3 separate regions of the Homo sapiens genome follow, and regions 2 and 3 are each linked to region 1. Evidence: promoter capture Hi-C in human tissues and cell types (Jung and others, 2019). All regions are on one chromosome and are shown on one strand. Each heading gives the region's core, a stretch centred on a gene start or on the middle of the fragment in contact. The rest is flanking DNA. Distances are from core to core; before and after follow the strand shown.

What was found. The method cuts DNA at HindIII sites, captures the fragments that hold promoters and counts their contacts. A contact is called where the count stands out against the background at its distance.
Region 2: a contact is called between a fragment that was not itself captured here and the fragment with the promoter of PRLR in region 1, in 1 of the 25 tissues and cell types used here (heart left ventricle).
Region 3: a fragment that was not itself captured here is called in contact with the fragment with the promoter of PRLR in region 1 in 1 of the 25 tissues and cell types used here (H1 embryonic stem cells).

The regions. Positions count from the first base shown.
Region 1 is chr5:35,228,703-35,233,078 of GRCh38, reverse strand. PRLR (prolactin receptor) reads left to right here and starts at 2,592. Exons shown (of 10, transcript NM_000949.7): 1 at 2,592-2,811. The HindIII fragment of the contact is 8,302 bases long and covers 1-4,376 here.
Region 2 is chr5:35,732,541-35,736,916 of GRCh38, reverse strand. The region is part of intron 21 of SPEF2 (sperm flagellar 2); the gene reads right to left. Among named protein-coding and RNA genes, the nearest start is that of SPEF2, 120 kb to the right of the region's middle. The HindIII fragment of the contact is 3,407 bases long and covers 472-3,878 here.
Region 3 is chr5:35,582,042-35,586,417 of GRCh38, reverse strand. No RefSeq gene overlaps it. Among named protein-coding and RNA genes, the nearest start is that of SPEF2, 34 kb to the left of the region's middle. The HindIII fragment of the contact is 5,578 bases long and covers 1-4,376 here.

The DNA.
Region 1 (4,376 bases), core at 1,343-3,842:
TTGAGAACCAGTGAGTTAAGGCACTGAGAGGGAAGTAAGTAAGGAAAGCTGGTGTGCGTAAGTCATTCTTTCACTAAGATTGGCAGGTAAAGAAATGAGTGAATTAAACTGTAAAGCCATCAAAAGGGTCAAAGAAGATGTAGAAGTTGTAGGTTGAGATAAAGAAGCCTATGGGGCAGAAAAGATTAAATATGCAAGAAAGGTAGAGGAAAGGGGAAGGAAAGAAAGGAACTTGATGTTTCTAGACTTTGTTAGATGGCACACATTTTACATATGCCATCACCATTATTATTCATTTGACTGGATTTTTGAGGCACATGCTACTGTGTCCAATTTACAGTGAGAAACCAAGAATAGCAAGGACCTAACCCAGTGCCAGTGCTGGGCTCTTCCTCTGCATCAGGCTGAGAAGCAAGGTCTTGGAGGAAGTAAACGGATATGGAGTCCAGGACTCAGGTAGGGAGTCAGCTTGCAAAGGACGAACACGTCCGCTAAGACAGAGATGCAGAAATGAACTAGAGGAGGACATCAGTAAAGAAGCTGTGAAGCTGGAGCACATCAGTGCATAGAGAGAAGGAGATAGTCAAAGAACCACTGTGGGGCAGAAAAGGAAAATATAGTGGCTCACTGCGGATTTCATCATCTCAGGAAAGCTGGGGCAAGGTAACTCACTGACAATGAGTACCCGTGGCTTTGTGACAGTGCCTGTGTGCTACACAACAGAGCAGAAAGCCAGCCCTGCCCTTCTTACCAGTGAGGTATGGATTAGCCACGCAACGACCAGTCTGTAAGCCAGGAGTACAGACGAGCCAAGCTGCCTGCAGCTGAGTGGGAACCACAAGGAGGAAAAGCCAAGTCCCTGCCTTCTAAGAGCTGACAGTCTGGAGTTACCCAGAGTGATCTTCTATTTCACTAACTGTTAAAATAGTCTGATTAGAACAACTATTGTAGAATTGAGTGACCCTTTGCTTTGCAAAGGTCATATAGAAATATTCTGCCACTGAGGATCTCATGTCGCCCAGTGGTTCTGAAAATAAATAGAAGTTGCGTACCTTCATGGACACCCATGAATGAAAGTAAATATACCCTAATCATCACAGGAAGCATGTGCGGTCTGCACGTGAAAGATGCATCTCCCATCAGCTAACAGAACCAGGTGGAGTCTATGTTTTAATAAGGACGTGTTATTGATCAGGAAGTATTAGGTTATTATGCCTAGGTAGTTGCTTCTGGGATTCCAGTCCAAAAGGATCACCAAAGCATCATGGGATTTTCAATGGCTTCCTGTGGCTTGGCAAATGCTCACTGCTAACTGTGATTTCCCAGTTATCCAGAGTAGCAGTCAAATCAAAGGGGAAAGCCTCATGTTTCAATAACTTAAAACAAAACAAAAAAAAAAACGGCCAGGCGCAGTGGCTCACGCCTGTAATCCCAGCACTTCAGGAGGCCAAGGTGGGTGGATCATGAGGTCAGGAAATCAAGACCATCCTGGCTAACAGGGTGAAACCTCATCTCTACTAAAAATACAAAAAACTAGCCGGACATGGTGGCACGCGCCTGTAGTCCCACCTACTCGGGAGGCTGAAGCAGGACAATTGCTTGAATCCAGGAGGCAGAGGTTCCAGTGAGCCGAGATGGGGTCACTGCAATCCAGCCTGAGCGACAGAGCGAGACTCTGTCTCAAAAAAACAAACAAAAACAAACAAAAAAAAAAACTCAGTAACCTTGGTTTAAAGTATTTCCTTGGTGGCCCTCTGGGTTGTGTAACAATCGGATGCATTAATTATTATGGCATCAAATGACACCAGCAACATACATAGTCAGAAATAACTATTTGATTCAGGCAGGTGCTATTATTTGTTTCAGCACTGTTAAATGTGGGGTTTTTGTTTTTGCAAGAGAAAAGGCGGTTGTGTGTGGTTTCAAGAAGAAGAAAAGTCAGAACAACATGCAGCCCATTAGAAAAGATAAATTCTTTATTTGTGGAAAACAACAGAAGTGGGGCTATTTAGGCACCGCCAATGTTTATTATATTCATATGGCAGAGAATAAACACAGCACACTAGAAGTTTGCGCTTTGGGTATTAAAAAAAAAAAAAAGCAAAACCTTCTTAGGTCACTGACTATCTTCTTTTGCTCCTTTCTATCTGACTCCTCAGGCAAGGTGCAATTCAAATCCCTGGAGAACCTCTCAAATATAGCTGCTGTTCAATGTTACTCAGAAATAAGGAAAGAAATTTGACACGGAGACACTCCACATCTTGGCTGCCTGGAAAAATATCATCTTTGAGGTCATTCAACTCACTAAGTCATTTTTATTATTGTTTTGTCTGTCTATTTTCTGGTACAGTCTCAATGAAAGATATGTGGCCCTAATCATGCAAAACCGATCTGGGGGGAATCAGTTGTTTCTTCAGGTCTTCGCAGGATTCCAGCTCCCCCAACTACCTCCGTCGCCTTCTAAAACTGGCAGGCTCTGGACGTTTTGCATGCTGAAGAAAATCACTGTTTTGCCTCCAGCAAGGAACATAAATGTTGCAACACTGACTCCTCCTCTCATGAAGAAAGAGTGAACAAGTGCACCGAGTTGAGCTTCTTCTCACAGAGCCACCGGGCTGGGGACCGGGGAGCGGAGGCTGAAATCCCCAGACGCCGGTTTTCTGGGCTGGGCTTTCTGCCTTACTCACTCCTTCTCCCTCTTTCTGGATTTTACCGACCGTTCGCGAAACAGCTTTCCACACAATGGAGCTTCATGTCCTCGTGCAGGAAGTACTCATCGACTGATGTGGCAGACTTTGCTCCCTGGCAAAAGTGAGTACCCATGGCGAGCTGAGGCCGCCTCCGACGGCGCGCGGCAGGGGCTGCGCGGGCGGCCGCTCTCCGGGATGCGGGTTCGAGGCCCGCGTGCTGAAGGGGAGAGCGGGGCCACCGGCGCGGGCTCCTGGAGAGAACGCCAGCCAGGAGCCAGAGTCGGCAGCCGGCGGGGAAGCCCGGGATCCGCCCGCCTCCCGCCCGGATGTCCCTTCTCAGAGGGGCTAAAAAATACTCTTAAGGTGCTTTGCCTCCACCACTGCCCCCAACCCCAGCTTTTACAAACTGCACTCGGCTCGCATTCGCCTTTGTCAAAGGCATCTTCACCTGTATCCTTGAGCATGAGTTTCGGCGTTGATTGTGGGATTCTCAGAATGCAAATTATTTGCGTCAAAATAAAAAGAAAAGAAAAAAAGAGCGGGGAGGGGGAAGGGGCGCAGACAGGTGATGTGATGAAAGCCGGACTCGAGACTCTCCCATCAGCAGCAGCCGCCGCCGCAGCAGCCTCGCGGGCATCCGGCGGGGAAAGTTTAGGGTTAGCAATGCTGACCTGAAAGGTGTTGCTCCTCCCAAAAGTCAGCGGGGGTAGGGGCAGATGAGCAGCCTCCGGGCCAGAAGCCGGAGCTGGACGGAGGCACCTAGGCAGAGGAATTGCAGCCCGGGAGGAAGCTGGAAGGAGAGCCCGCTGGAGAAGGGAGGAGGGAAGGGAAGAGGAGTTGGTTAAAGTCAGGCAAACTCAGGTAACTGGAGGGCCGGCCCGAGTGCTACGGCAGGGGAAGGCAAGGGCTGGAGTTCTGGCTCTTTGAGTAGAAAACTATCCTTTTAGTGACCTCTACCTGTATCCTGGGGAAGCAACCCACACTGCCCTGAAAACAAGCAACGTAGGGGATTCTATGACTGGACTTGAAAATGGTTGCAAAACATTATTATTAGTCTGGAGGGATCACTTTGTCTTCATTTGTCAAGTTGACCGGGCAAGATTTCCCACCTGAAATCGTGCTTCACTTGACCAGGGAAGTGCTGCTAATCCCAATCCTGACCATCAGCTGTGCAAACTTGGGCAAGATACTTACCCTCTCTGGGCTTCGATTTTTTTTCTGCAAAGTTTAGGGAATTAATTAATTATATATATATATTATAGAAATATATATAATATATATATAAATGTTTAATGAGGTGGAAGTGCTGAATAGTGCAAGAGAGGAGCAGATGAAAATATTAATTTCAGTGGTTCTTAAAAATTAGGGGTGATAGGTCCTTTTGAGAATTAGCTGTGAGTCCTCTTCCTGGGGCAAAATGCATATGGCATGTACATAAAATTTTACATGCAATCCCTGAGGGTTTGTGGATACTCCCTGAAAGCCATGCCTGAATCCCAGGTGACAATCCCTTATTCCTCCTCCTGTATCAAGACCACCCAGCCAACTCCTTGCTGCTGGTTGGGCTGACTGTGGGAGTAATCCACAGCCTTCTTGGGGGTCTGGAGTCAGCCACGCTGCTGAAGGAGACAGCTCCCCTGTCATGGGTGAGCTCCCCACATGCTCTCTCCAGAGCTCTACCAGCCT
Region 2 (4,376 bases), core at 926-3,425, 500 kb before region 1:
TTGGATGCTCCAGGCATTTTGTGAAGTTTCTGAGGGGCCAAAGAAAAATAACATCTGCTTATTATGAGAGTATTTTGAGAAAGTTTGCTAAAGCTTTAGCAGAAAAACAACTGAGAAGCTTCACCAAAGAGTTCTTCTCCACCAAAACAATTCTCCTGCTCATTCCCCTCATCAAACAAGACCAATTTTGTAAAACTCTTGATGGGAAATCATTAGGCATCCATGATATGGTTTGGCTCTGTGTCTCCACCCAAATCTCATCTCAAATTATAATCCCCATAATCTCCATGTGTCAAGGGAAGGACCTGGTAGGAGGTGATTGGAGCATAAGGTGGGGTTTCCCCATGCTGTGCTCATGATAGTGAGTTAGTTCTCATGTGACATGATGGTTTTATAAGTGTTTGACAGTTCCTCTTTCACACACACACACACACACACACACACACACTCTGTCACTTGCCTCCATGTAGTTAATATGTGCCTGCTTTCCCCTCTGCCATGATTATAAGTTTCCTAAGGCCTCCCCAGCCATGTGTAACTGTGTGAGTCAATTAAACCTCTTTCTTTTATAAATGACTCAGTCTTGGGTATTTCTTTATGGCACTGTGAAAACAAACTAATACAATCCACCTTATATTTCTGATTTGGCTCCATCTTTCTTCTTTTTCTTAATCTTAAAATATCTGTAAAGGGTATCCATTTTATTTAATAAATAATGTAAAAAAGACTGCATTGACTTGGTTCAACTCTTGGGACCCTCATTTCCTTAAGGATGGACCGCATTGTTGGTATTATCTCCTACAAAGGTGTCTTAATCTTGAAGCTTACGTTGAGAAATAAGGCTTATTTTTTAATTTTATCTTTTAATTCAATTTTTCCACAAGCCTTTTGAAGTCCTCTCATGCCATCTTTTCTTTAATTACCATAGTGTTTGGGACATAGTAGTCCCTGAAGTAATAGTTATTGAATGAATAAATTGAATCATCACAGGTGACACATTTTGTCTCAGTTAGGAAACTGTCTAGCATGAAGAACACGTAGTGTTCATATCAGTGTGATGATGAGTTATTTCTCCGATTACATTTAGAAGGTTCTTTCATTGCTGTGTGCATAATGAAAATCAGAAAGCTTCTTTTATATTTTATTTAATAATGCAAATAAACAATCAAAACCAAGAAATAATCTAAATGAATAAAGCTGAGGATCCATATTATATTTAGTATATTCTTGCTGTACTCATTATTCCCTTATTGGCTGCGCATTTATTCACTCAGGGAATTACACATGGAGACCTTAGAGGTCATCTGGGCTAATTTCCTCTCCAATCAAGAAATGCCAAATGCTACAGATACATTATCTAATCTCCCTGTGGACCTCATGTATGTATCAAGCACAGAATTTCAAGGCAGCCTCCTTCAGTGTTGCACAACTCATGTTACTGGAAAACTTTTTCTTCTGTTGAGCAGAAATTTGTCTTTCTGTAATTTCCACTCAGTCCTAGCTATTCTCTTTGGAGAAGGACAGACTACATTCACACTAACTTTCTTATGGCAGCCTGTCAGATATTTGAAGACTGGTAACATTAGTGAGGAGAGAGTAAGACTGGGATTCAGGATACATGAGATCTGATCCAAGTCATTCTATCATTACTTATGTGTCTTACTTTGTCCAAACCAATGAGTAAATCAACCAAAAATTATTCACTAAGTGGTCATCCTATGTAGGTAGGTACTTTCCTAGGTACTAGAAATTTTGTGGTGAATAAGGCAGAGTTGCTGGCTTTAGGAGCTTATATTCATATAGAAGATAGGAAACAGTGAAGAAGTAATAAGTAATTAGGAAAATCAGTAAGAAGGTAAGTAGTAAAGACCTAGGCAACTTAATTAGCCAATAAAAAAGCAATTCATGGCCGGGCGTGGTGTCTCATGCCTATAATCCCAGCACTTTGGGAGGCCAAGGTGGGTGGATCTTGAGGTCAGGAAGTTGAGACCATCCTGGCCAACATGGTGAAACCCCATCTCTATTAAAAATACAAAAATTAGCCAGGCGTGGTGGCATGCACCTGTAGTCTCAGCTACTTGGGAGGCTGAGGCAGGAGAATCGCTTGAACCCGGGAGGCGGAGGTTGCAGTGAGCTGAGATTGCAGCAGTGTACTCCAGCCTGGTGACAGAGTGAGACTCTGTCTGAAAAAAAAAAAAAAAAAAAAAGAAAAAAAAGAAAGCAATTCACATACTAAGTGTTGTGAAGTGACAGAGGTGCTGCTTTGTTTAGCATGGTCAGGAAAGGCCTCTTCATTAAGCAGCATTGCAGTTGGCATTGAGAAGAAGGAAGATTTAGGGCAAGCTTGTCCAATCCATGGCCTGTGGGTCACAGGCAGCCCATGACAGCTTTGAATGTGGCCCAATATAAATTCGTAAACTTCCTTAAAACATTATGAGATGTTTTTGTGATTTTCTTTTTTTCAGCTCCTTAGCTACCATTGGTGTTAGTGTATTTTATGAGTGGCCCAAGAGAATTATTCTTCCCTTGTGGCCCGGGGAAGCCAAAAGATTGGACACCACTGATTTAGGGGAAGAGCACTCTGAGCAGAAGGAACAGCAGATGCAAAGGCACTGTGGTGGGAATGTTCTTGGCATATGTAACGGAGAGAATGCAGGCTAGTGTTTGCAGGGCTTGGTGAAACAAAGTAGGACTGGAGAAAGATGACATCTGAGAAGTGGGTAAGACCCAGTTTCTGAACCATTCCCAGATTCTATCCCTTCCTCCCTCTTTCCCTATGTCATTGCCTTCCTTCAAGCCTTTATTAGTTCTTGTCTAGAGCAGTATAGGGGCCTCCAAACAGGTCTCTGTGATTCCTTTCAATATCCTTGAATTACCTTCTATTCTTAAAACAATGAACACTTATTTAGAACCTACTTTGTGCCAGATTCTGTTTAAAGGGCTTTATGTGGACTAACTCATTAAAGTCCTACAACAACTTAAAAGATATGTTTCTATTACTCTTACTATTTAAAGATGAGGCAATTGAAGCAACAGAGGTTAAACAGCTTGTACAAGGTCATGTAGCTGCTGAGTGACATAGCTGGGATTTGAACATAGACCAGTCACAATCCACTTTTTTTTTTTTTAAACAATTCACTGTACTGTCTCTCTGAGTTACTGTAGTGAAAATTATTCCAACATGTTACTTTCTTGCTGAAAAACATTCCGTGGTTTCCACTACCATGCAGATGAAGTCCAAACACTTCAGCACAGATTTTAAGATCCTTCTAAATCTGGCACCTGCCTTCCTGTGAACTGCCTCCTAAAGCTGTGTCCTTAAACCTTCTGCTCCTGATGCACTGAGACAATCTCTCAGACTGAGATTCTCTCTTCCTATAATATTCCCTACCCAATGAACTCATACTTTAAAAGGTAATTTGCAGTGAGGGCCTTTTTTGATATTCTAAATAAAATGTATTATTCCCTCCTCTAAGTTGTTATGACAGTTTACAGTCTTGTTATAGAGGAAACTACAAAACTGTGTTGTAATCCCAACACTTTGGGAGGCCAAGGCAGGTGGATCACGAGGTGAGGAGATCGCGACCATCCTGGCTAACACGGTAAAACCCCATCTCTACTAAAAATACAAAAAACTAGTCGGGCGTGGTGGCGGGCGCCTGTAGTCCCGGCTACTCAGGAGGCTGAGGCAGGAGAATGGCATGAACCTGGGAGGCGGTGCTTGCAGTGAGCCAAGATCATGCCACTGCACTCCAGCCTGGGTGACAGAGCGAGACTCCATCTCAAAAAAAAACAAAAAACAAAAAACAAAAAAAAACCTGTGTTGTAATTGGTTGCTTACAGAAATTCCATTTGTCAGGGGGGGATATGTTCCCAGACCCACAGGGGATGCCTGAAACTGAAGATAGTACTAAACCCTATATGTACAATGTTTTTTCCTATGCATACATTCCTATGATATAATTTAATTCATAATCAGGCACAGTAAAATATTAACTAATAATAAAATAGAACAATTATAACAATATACTGTAAAAAAAGTTATGTGATTGTAGGCTCTTTCTTTCTCTTACTCAAAATACCTCATTGTACTGTACTGTGGGTAATTGAAATCATAAAGTGAAACTGCAAATAAGGGGCAACTATTGTTTATGCCTCTGTCTCCAAGTAGACTGTGTCCTTGGACATGGCAATTGCAGCTTGCTTGCTTTCATGTTCCCAGAACTGAGTACAGCATTTGCACATAATGGGTGCTCAATAAATGTTAATATGGATATAACCAGGCTCATTTGAACCCAGTTTTATCATCATATTAAATTTTTTGGAGACTGTATGGCTCCAAATAGTTCTAAAAGCCTAAGATCGTATGTCTAACC
Region 3 (4,376 bases), core at 559-3,058, 350 kb before region 1:
GATCATGTCACCTTCTTGCTTAAGCCTGGGATATTTGTGTTTTTGTTGTTGTTGTTTTGTTTTTGTTTTTAAGCATAAACAGAATAGAAATCAAAGTTTTTAGCACAGCATTCAAGAACTCACAAGATCTTCCCTGAATCTACCATTTATCTATGCCCATCACTACAACTATTGTTCTTCACTTGTTGTGCTTCAACAAGCTATCATATCAAAATTTTGCATATCTTTCAATGTCCACATCAAATGTCAACTCTCCTATAAACATTTTTCCTGCACCTATCTTTACTAATAGTTAATCTTATTCTTTTATGTTTTATGGCATTTTATTTATATATCATTTTCAATTAAGAAAAATAGAAACGGGATCTCACTCTATTGCCCAGGCTGAAGTGCAGTGGTGCAATCATAGCTCACTGTAACCTTGAATTTCTAGGCTCAAGCAATCTTCCTGCCTCATCCTCCTTCAATTTTTTACCACCGTATGCCTTTAATTATTGTTATTTGTGCACTTCACTGCTGTTCTTACTAGATTACAAGACCCTTGAAGATAGCGACTATGTCTTATACAACTTTGTGTTTTCCATGTTGACTGATATGGTGTTTTGCATGTAAGAATAACCTAGGAAAATTCAGTACATTTAATTGTTTAATTGAAGGGCAAAAATGAAAAAAAATTTCAAAGGATACTGAAATCACCTTCTAGATTTATCAGATGGTTTTAACAGCAACTAATAAAAAACCCCTAGAAATAATTAAACTCTTATGTCAAGAAAGAAGTAATATACATTTAAAGGAAAGAAAGCCTGTAAGTATTACAAATGCAAGAAAATACAGAATTTGAAGTAAGTAGTATTAAGCAGAAATGGTACCAACCAAGCACAGTACACTGCATTTGTATAACACCTATACCTCCTAAGTGGTTCAAGTTAACCAGTTGCCTTGATGCAGTCAACTTTATGGCAGAAGCCACTCAGACCGGAAATGCTTAGTATATCTTCAAGTCCATAAATGTTGTCATGACCCTTCTCATACTACTACTGTCTTGGAAAATTTTGCCAAATTACTACTCCAAATTCTGCTTAGATACCTTTATACAAACATACCCACCTTTAACTCATTCCCCTGGTAGAGCGCTGTGAAAAATAAGAAATTGAAGATGTTTGTTGTAAAGGTTATTGCATCCAAGCTGAGGATAATTACAGGTTACCATATTGGGACACAAAGTGATTTGTTGTACCTGAAGCCCACAAGCAGAAGTATGTAACACTCACATGCACATCACCTTCAACAGAAGTAGGAAAATCCTTGTACATTGTCTCCTGTACTAAAATCACTTCACTCAGTACAGATAAGACATAATTTCTCAATGAATAATGGAATTATTAGTTAATGCCAGCTTGACCTTTCTATCAATATACCTTTCAGAAAAAAGAAAAAAAAAGCCTGAGTTGTAGGCTTTAACGATCAGCAACACTCTTAAGTGATTTGACAGTAAGAAGCAAGTAAGGTACATTCTAAGGTTTCTTGCTTAGTTGCTTAGGAAATCAAGAACCTCATTGCATTAGAGCTGAGGTAAAGGAAGTCCTGAGTTTATAAAACTCTAGCAAGCAGAGAAAAATAGACAAAAATGAGCAAAATTTCTTAGCTCAAAAGTTTAACAATTTTCTTGTTTTAGAACTAAAAATTCAGTAGTATCAGCTGCCTATAAAATCTATAGAGCAATCAGAGTGAGTAGCCATTATCTCATTTGGTGCAATTCAGAATGACAATTCAAAGCCAGTATAATTTCTATCTATGCTTGCAAGAATGATGAAAAATGTCATGGATGGTTGAAATGTAACTGTCACTCAGGAAGAATATAAAACACTTTCTGAGTGTTTTTGAAAGATCTTATAGTTTTTTTTAATTGAAACTTACGTCTTTCAAATATAAGCTGCACTGGACATCAGTAAAATATCTGGGCAGCCATACAATATCTGTTGAGAATCTCTAGACTCACCTTTTATGGATTGGTAGGATGTCATAGAAGATTTTGGCATTGGTATTCTAACTCAGAAACCTCTTAGCTATCCAAGACACCTTCATTCCTTTATCCTTCTTGTTTGAGCTATGGTCAAGATCTGTTAACAGATCCTTAAGACCAGCTCCCTCTCATCTTTTGTATTCATTGATCTCCACTGATTCTTAGTTAAGGTATTCAGTCCTTCTCACATGAACTGTTATGAGAGTCTTGAAATTGTCCTTTTATTACTCCAATATGCCCATCTTGAATCTACTATTTATACTATAATGAGAGGAATCATCCTAAAATGTAAAACTCACTATGCTGCATCCTGGATCAAAGCTTTGAAATGACTACTGGTTGCCTAGAAGATAAAATACAAGTCTTTTAGTACAAGACATTGCAAAATCTTCTCTGTGTCTACTTCTCCCACCTCAGTATCAACACATTTTCCATTTCCTCCTCTCTCCATTCCTACCATAATCGTCCCTCTGGATGTTTCTCAATTCAACATACTTCATTCCTCCATTCCACTATCCATGCTGTGACTTTTGTCTAGAATACCCCTTTTCCCTTTATTCCAACATATTTTGCAAAACACGGTTCAATATTCTATTTCTCTATGAAGTCTATAAAATTAACCTCACTCTAGAACTGTGCAAATACTTCTATTATGACACCAATAGCAATTTATTTCACTAGCATCTTTAAATGTCCATACTACAGAGAGGTTACAGAGGCAATTCCACAGAAGCATGGAACATGCATGATTGTTTTTGTTTCCTCAAAATGTAGCAAAATAGGCACTCTATAAATATGTGTTTTGATTCCCTTTACTAAGGGGAACTTAACTTATCCAGAAACATTAAGAAACTATTAAACAAGCACTGTTTCTTAAAGAGAATTCACTATACAGTCATGTGTCACTTAACGATGGGGATACATTCTGAGAAATGCGTTGTTAGGTGATTTTGTCCTTATATGACCATCATAGAATGTACTACATAAACGTAGATGGTACAACCTATTTCTCCCAGGCTACAAACCTGTACAGAATGTTACTGTACTAAATACTACAGGCAACTGTAATGCATTGGTAAGCGTTCATGTATCTAAACATAGAAAAGATACAGTAAAAATTATAGCATTATAATCTTATGAAACCATTGTCATAAATGTGGTCCATGATTAATCAAACCATTGTTATGTGGTGCCTGACTCTACTTTCACTGCATTATGGGTAAGGAGTTAGTATGATTCATGGTCAAAATATAATAAACTATACTGGTGGAATGCTAGCTGCCTAAAGACAGTATAGGTACAGTAGTTAAGTATGTATTTTTAGATGCCAGATTGTTTGGTTTTAAATTCTGACTACCTTTCACAAGATGTATAACTTTGGTCAAGACCCTTGAGCTCCCTAATCTTTCGTTTCCTCAGCTATAAAATGGAGATAGTAATACTTATAAGTTTGTTGTAAGAATGAAATAATATAGATCAAGTAGCTTAGATAGGCATTTATATAGAACACCGTAAGCAATCAGAAGACACCAGATATTATTTCTAAAGTAGATGCAGTAGGACAAAGGTATACATGTGTGTAATCTGTGTAAAATCCACTAATTATGTTTCCACAAAGTAATAATACTTTTAGCTGAGGCTATTAAGATAAGGTCTATAACAAGAATACCATGTTAAAGTGCCTATACTCTTTGCAATGGGGAGCCCATGGAGTGTCTGTGGTAACTAACTGACAAGAGTTTCATTTTCAGATCACTGTGTGTAAAACAACTATTGCAGGGATGAGGAAAGGAGTAATTAGAGGAAGGAAAACAAGTAAACATGGTAATATTCTAGGTTAGAGGTTGATATGGTTTGGCTCCACGTCCCCACCCAAATCTCATCTTGTAGCTCCCATAATTCCCACATGTTGTGGGAGGGACTTTGTGGGAGATGATTCAGTTATGGGGGCAGGTCTTTTCCATGCTGTTCTCATGATAGTGAATGGGTCTCATGAGATCTGATGGTTTTAAAAATGGGAGTCACCCCTACAGAAGCTCTTTTTGCCTCCTGCCATCCATGTAAGATGTAACTTGTCTTCCTTGCCTTCTGCCATGATTCTGAGGCCTCCCCAACCATGTGGAAGTGTAAGTCCAATTAAACCTCTTTTTCTTCCCAGTCTTGGGTATATCTTTATCAGCAGTGTGAAACGAACTAATACAGTAAATTGGTACCAGTAGAGTGGGGCACTGCTGAAAAAATACCTGAGAATGTGGAAGCAACTTTGGAACTGGGTAACAGGCAGAGGTTGGAACAGTTTGAAGGGCTTAGAAGAAGTCAGGAAAATGTGGGAAAGTATGGAACTCCCTAGAGA